Linked DNA regions of Homo sapiens: region 1 is linked to region 2. Evidence: promoter capture Hi-C in human tissues and cell types (Jung and others, 2019). All regions are on one chromosome and are shown on one strand. The core of a region is centred on a gene start or on the middle of the fragment in contact, and the rest is flanking DNA. Distances in the headings are between cores, read along the strand shown.

What was found. The method cuts DNA at HindIII sites, captures the fragments that hold promoters and counts their contacts. A contact is called where the count stands out against the background at its distance.
Region 1: a contact is called between a fragment that was not itself captured here and the fragment with the promoter of PHOX2B in region 2, in 1 of the 25 tissues and cell types used here (mesendoderm cells).

The regions. Positions count from the first base shown.
Region 1 is chr4:41,877,424-41,880,708 of GRCh38, forward strand. It overlaps LINC00682 (long intergenic non-protein coding RNA 682), which reads right to left. Exons shown (of 2, transcript NR_104143.1): 2 at 2,098-3,285. Among named protein-coding and RNA genes, the nearest start is that of LINC00682, 3.5 kb to the right of the region's middle. RefSeq lists an enhancer at 2,386-3,138. The HindIII fragment of the contact is 7,009 bases long and covers 1-3,285 here.
Region 2 is chr4:41,746,972-41,750,159 of GRCh38, forward strand. It overlaps PHOX2B (paired like homeobox 2B), which reads right to left and starts at 1,754. Exons shown (of 3, transcript NM_003924.4): 1 at 1,399-1,754; 2 at 378-565. The coding sequence starts at 1,639. It overlaps PHOX2B-AS1 (PHOX2B antisense RNA 1), which reads left to right and starts at 1,378. Exons shown (of 4, transcript NR_187403.1): 1 at 1,378-1,615. The HindIII fragment of the contact is 4,691 bases long and covers 1-2,831 here.

The sequences.
Region 1 (3,285 bases), core at 295-2,794, 130 kb after region 2:
AATGGCAGGTAGGAAGGCTGCTGCAGGCAATGCTACCCACCCCCCACCTAGAGGACGCCTTGGAGAGCAAAGCTGGCTCTGGCATCCCCAGGCCCATGCCAGCTGGAGTGACCAGACCAGGCAATTTCCACAGAATTCTCTGAATCATTCCCATCCTCTTTCCACCATCAGCTCCCTCCTGTCTTGGCACCTGGTGACCGCAGTGCATGGCGCCAGCTTGGCACTTCCAGGGCTGGCCCCTTCCTAACCCTGCCAGATCAGGTCAGCGAGAGAGCACACGTGGGGCACCTGGCTGCTTCTGCCAACTGGCCTTGTCGCCTAGCTGCACCCTTAGACAGCCAGGACCAAGCAGGGCATCAGCACTCCTGAGAACTGCTGTCCTCTTCACCCTTTTGGCCCCCACTCCCACCCCAGCTACCAGGGGAGAGGATTTTGGAGACCTGACCACTTCCTGGAGCACCAAGTGTCTGTAGGCCACCTTGCAAAACTCAGGACACCCGGAACAGCACACTTGTGCCCGCAGCATAAACAGGGAGAAACCTGTCTTCGCAGGAGGGAACTGTCCTCCATGATTTGGAAGGGCAATGTGAATTCCAACATATACCAGAGACCGAACTAGAGGTGAATAAGCCGAGGCTAGAATATGCAGTTTTAAAAGTTTTTTTTCTATAGAAAAATGTAAGTTAGCTAAATGCAACAAAAGATTTTCCGCGGGTTCAGGAGGTCAAGCAGATGTAGACAAGCTCAGGGGAGTTATTTATGTCAAGTTGGGTTATTGTAAAGGCGAGAGAGAGAATCGCCCAGGCGGCTTAGGCAGCCAGTGGGCCAGTGGGCCTGCGCGCCGGGGTCAGGATGGCAGGGCAGTGTGTCCATCCTGGCGGGACAGTAATTGCCCCGGGTCTGACACGACGCCGGGGGCTCAGGGCGCCTCCATCCATCTCCATCCAGTTAGCGACGCGCCCCCCGACCGGGCGGGTGGCCGGGCTTGGGCCTCAGCTCCGAATAATGAGAACAATTGTCTCCCCGCCTGGCATAGCCCTCCGCCGCTCCTCCGGGTTCGCTGCCCCTCTCATTTCTCTAGCCCTGCTTGTTTCCCAACCTTGGCGATGGGGATCGGGTGGGAGGTCAGCTCCAGATCCAGTGGCCCTGAGCTCAGAGAGCAGCGAAGTCAGGGTGCCCCGGGAGGAGATCAAAGCCTCGGCCCCCACTGCCCTCCGCTCTGCCTCTGCCAGCGACTAACTTACCTCTTTTTCCACCTGCCCAGCGAATCCAGCTGCCCGGCCTTCCCCTCCCATCCAAGAACCCCCGGCTCCTGCCTCTAGAATTTTCCACCAGCGCTGGGGGCTGGTAAAGATTCTGCCCCCCTCTGACAATTTAATAGTCCCAAGTCATCATCTGCGTGACACTGGCCATCCATCTTCTCCCAGGGGAGGACAAAGCGGGGCCTCCCGGACTCCAGGCCTCTCCCTCCCCAGCTCTTTCTATTTTGGGACAGCCTCACCACAATGGCGTCCTTATAAACCATAATGGCGATGTTTATGAAGGCCGCAATACCAGTGTATGAAGACAATTTTATGCCTAATTAGAAAATGATGTAACTCGAGAGAAGACAAAGGAAAGCTGTCCCCCTCCCGTTTCTCTCTCTTCAATCACACCCCCTCCCCACATTTCCTAGGGCCGGACCCCTTGTGAGTGCTTAAGGCTGAAGGACTCTGTTTTGACAGTAGCTGGGCTCCCCGCGCCCCGCTGGCCCTGGCCGCGCGACAGGAGGCTGCAGGCACGTCCTGCGGCTCCGGGGCGAAGGCTAGGGAAGGGGATAGAGGGAGGTCGCTGCGGGGAGGGGGACAGAGGCAGGCACAGAGTCCTAAAGAGATTTGAGACTCGCGCTCCTGCACTTTCTATCCCACGCGCCCCCATCCGAGGGGACCTCACCCCTGGGAAGACTCCAATAAATGCAACCCGGCGCCACTCGATTCCGGGATAATTTTTAATATATATGCAATAAATGTTCACTTTGTTAGATTGAATGACAGACAATAATATCGGCAAATCTTCATATCCATCCATTACCAGCAAATGAGCCGCACAAAGGACAGATTTGCTTTTGATTAATTTATTTGCAGACTCGGGTTGATAAAGCAATAACTATTTGGTTAAACTTGACATTTGGTCTTCAGGGGGTTATCAGACAAATCTCTGTCGCCCAGAAGAGATAATAAAGCTGTTTAAAGGGGATTAATTATTAATTGGCTGCAATTAATTTCCCCCCTTTTCTCGGCTGCTGCCACAATTCGCATCCCTCACCCACAAACAAAAGACAGAAGTTTGCCCTCCTCCCCACCCACTGACCTGGGGCGACGAGGGGATCCCCAAAGCCCTGAGTGAAGACGTGATCTCTTGCACCCCGGTTATTCCAGTGCAGACTATTTTAATGAACCCTTGGCAAAACCTGTCCATGTCTGTCCCCGGCAGCTTTTCTGGAGTCGAGGGTGCGATTAAGCATCAATCTGAGGGTCGTGGATTCGGAGCTGAATTTCTAGTCTCAATATTTTTGGTTGTAAGGACATCAGCTCACACCCGTTGTTATGTCTAAATCCACACTCCCCAACTTGTTTTCTTGGGGCAGCAGTTTGGGGGCTGAGCTGGAACCTGGGTGTGAGAGTATCACAAGCCCGCCCTACTGATCACGCGGAGAGGATTCCTTCTTCCCCTCTTTACTCCGCGCCCTGCCGCGGAAACCCTTCCCGTGGCCTCGAACTGGTCCCCGACGACTGCGGGGTACGCGGGGCCCAAAGCCAGACTCTACTCCCGCGCAGATGCGGGAAGACTCCAGGCTGTGCTTGAGCTGTTTTACTGGGCCTGGCCGAGGAATAAGCGAGCCTCAGCATGCTTGGGCCAGAGCGAGAAGCATCTTCATGACCCTGGGGTGCCCCTTCCTTTACTAATAACCTGTCAAGACTTTAAAGAACACATACTGAGACTAAAGCCCACCAAGCCTGCCTGGCCACAGCGCAGGCTGCCTCGGCCTCTCCGACATCCACCCGCTTCCAGGGACCTGTACGCTTTCCTTGGGTGCGAACTCGAGTCCAGGACCGGCAGGGTTCTCGCCTTAATCTGTACCACCGTCCCGTAAATCTGTCGCTCAGCCCATAGCCGGCCTTTGATCTCCAAGCGGAGCAGCTGGACAGGTGTCGAACTGCACTTCCCTTCCCGCTCTGAGCCACCGAACAAACTTGGCCATGCCCGGAAAGGATTCCCGTGCTCAGGGAACCTGGGGCACAGGAG
Region 2 (3,188 bases), core at 504-3,003:
CACTTGAGTTAGGAGGCATTTTTTTGGGGGGCGGGAGGGGAGAAGGAAAAACTTATAATACGGGAGCAAAGTCTGCACACCTTCCACCACAGGCACTTCCTGTCCCCGAAATTGCATCGCTCATCCACGTCCCAAGGCCCCCCATGTCTCTGCTCGGGTGGGAAACACTTCGCAACTGTAAATAAAATGCCAAGAGCGTGCGCTCTAAGCCTCTCTCGAACGCACAGCCACACCAAATCCAGTATTTCTGATCGGCCATGGGGCCCTAGGTCCTTCTCACTCGAGGCTCCAGGACTTCGAATTTCACCAGCCGCCCCTCACCCCACACCTCCCCGGACCAGTGCGGCGGAGCGGGGTCGGTTTCCAGGCGCGCGTACCTGGACTCGCGCCTCTGTGAGGTCGATCTTCAGGGCCAGCTCCTCCCGAGTGTAGATGTCGGGGTAGTGAGTCTCCGCGAAGACCCTTTCCAGCTCTTTGAGCTGGGCACTGGTGAAAGTGGTGCGGATGCGCCGCTGCTTGCGCTTCTCGTTGAGGCCGCCGTGGTCCGTGAAGAGTTTGTAAGGAACTAGAGTATGACAGAGGAGACAGAAAGTGAGCAAATCAGCCGGCAGCTCGCCGGCCGTGGAGCTAGAATGTGAGGACTCCAAGGTCAGGTCATACGGCAGCCGCTACCTACACCCGCGCGAGAGAGTTGCCGAGAGAAGCTGCGGGAAGAAACCGAGGAAATTTGTTATCTGCGGAAACCTGGGCTCAAACTTCGGGCTTGGCGGAGTCCTTTCTGGCACAAGCGCCTTTGGGTGGATTGAAACAGCGCGATGTGACGGACTTGAGATAGTGCTTTCAGCAGGAAAAAACCAGAGAGGAAAAAAATCCAAAAACATCAGTCGGAATATCAGGGAGCCAGGAAAGAAGTTACCAAACAGTCCCACTTTGGGAACTTTTCAATTCTCAGAAAGTTGACCCGGCTCAAAAGTTGGGGGAAAGAGCTGCAAAAAAATAATAATAAATTAAAGAAATAATCATAAAAATGACCAGCCAAAGAGGTGTGAGCCGCTGTCGGTTCTTAAAAAAAGAGACACTGCCAGTAATGAGCTTTACTCTTTGTTATTTAATTATTTTCTAAGCTTTACGTCTCATCGCAAAGTAAATAAATTATGCCTATCATTTTGGCAGCTTAAGATAATTTTGTTGGCGGTTCGGGTGTGACTAGGATAGTGTAACCCTGTAAGTGAATTACCCCTCCCTGCAATCGCTTCTAACGTGATAAATTCTTTCATTTGTGTAAGCAAATTTCGTTTGGTAAATACTAAACACATTTCCATTTTCAAATGCAATCAAGGCTTCCTATATACGGGCGGAAAGGCGGCTTCCTCCGCTGAGAAAGCTGAAGGTCCTTACCTGCGGCGTACGGACTGCTCTGGTGGTCCCTGAGGGTGCCCAGGCTGCAGGATCCCGGCGTGAGGGAAGGGCAGCCGGACGTGGCCCCAAAAGTGGTCCTTATCGGGTTATACTGGAAGCCACTGGCCTGGCTGCAGGAACTGAAGTCAGCATAGGCTGAAGCCAGGCTCGAGGTGTCCATCCCAGCCATACAGGACTCGTAGGCAGAGGAATTGAGGTAAGAATATTCCATTTTATACATTGAAAAGGTTCTGGATGGCTCAGCCAAGTGGAAAAATGAAATAAAAGATGGATATGGAGAAGGTGGCTGGAGTGGGGAGATGTGCACAGCTCAACGCCTGCCTCCAAACTGGCCTCCTTACTACCAGCAGAGCCTAGTTTTATGAAAAAGCCTCCTATGAGATGCCTTGTCTGAGGTCTCTAGAGCATATAGTCCTCATAATAAACTTGGCTCTTTCCACTTGGACAATAGCAAAGCGGTTGGTCTTATTGCTGGCGCTTTTTACATGACAATAACTCATCCGTCTATTGGGCTGGCACTGGGGAACTGAGCTGTCCAACCTCCCTATCATTGATTCCTGCATCTCTAATTAGAATTTAATACCACACCATTACGCACCGAGCCCCTGATCCTCCCTTCTAACCAGCTCCCTGCCCTTTAATTCAATCACACTACTTGGAAATAATGAAAGTTGGGTGACGATTCTCCCTGATCCAATTTCCCCGAGCTTTTAAGCCTTTTTAACTGATCATATACCTTAGGCATAAATTGAGATAGTGTGTGTGTTTTCCCCCTTCTTCGTCCTCTTCTTTTTTTCCCCCTCGGTTAGGGAGAAGAAACCTTGATGTCATAGAAAACCTGTTTTGTAAGAGTGTTACACGCTCAATTTAACAACAAGCCTACCCCCCGAAGTGCATGAAATGTTATAAAGGACTGGGACATTGGCAAGACTCAGGCGCCCTGTAACATAGAGTAAGTGGGCCAAGGGGGTTTATGTGAACGATAAGCGGATTTCTTTAAAAATACACCTGGTAGAGGGGGTTAAAAAAAAGAGAGACAGAGAGAAAGCATCTTATAAATTGCATTTCTTCTTGCAGCTAAATGTGCTTTCAAGAGACTCAGGGTATACAGCCACTTAAAAATAATAATAAAAAAATCTGAGGAAAGCTTTCGAATGTGAAACATCTGGATTCTCGACCGTTGTGTTCTTTGCTCTCAGTTCTGTCTGTTTGCATTAGCGCAAGCCTTGGTTGGTTTGAGTTTCTGTGAGGTTGTTCGTTTTAATTACACCATAACTGGCAAGCGAGCATGAAGTGTACCCAAATGTATCTCCTCTTTCATCTCTTTCGGGCGCTCTCCCTCTTTCTCGCCTCTTTTTTTTTTTCAGGTGCCCACAATCCTCCACAGACCCGGGGATTGTGTCTGTTTGCCTTTTAGGTTTGCGGACTGTAGTGAGGGAAATTCTTGCCATGTAAATGCCCAGGCAAGGGCTCCAGGTCGGGCACCTTTCTTGTCCGATTCCTCAGGCTTTTGGGTGCTGGCAGCGAGGCACAGACAAAGGAGCGAGCAGTGATTTGTGGACTTCAGTGGCCCCATGATTTAAGCGGAGGGTAATTTTCATTTGGTTTGTTAGGCCCTAGCAGAATAAGGGAAACTATTTCATTAAATCCTTCCTCTCGGTGGACAAGAGGGGGAAAGCTTAGCTGAATCGCCGTGTGGTGTAAACAAACCCTGGATATTTTATATGAATTAAATGTGTAGATAATTAGTTTTATTGCATTCATTACCC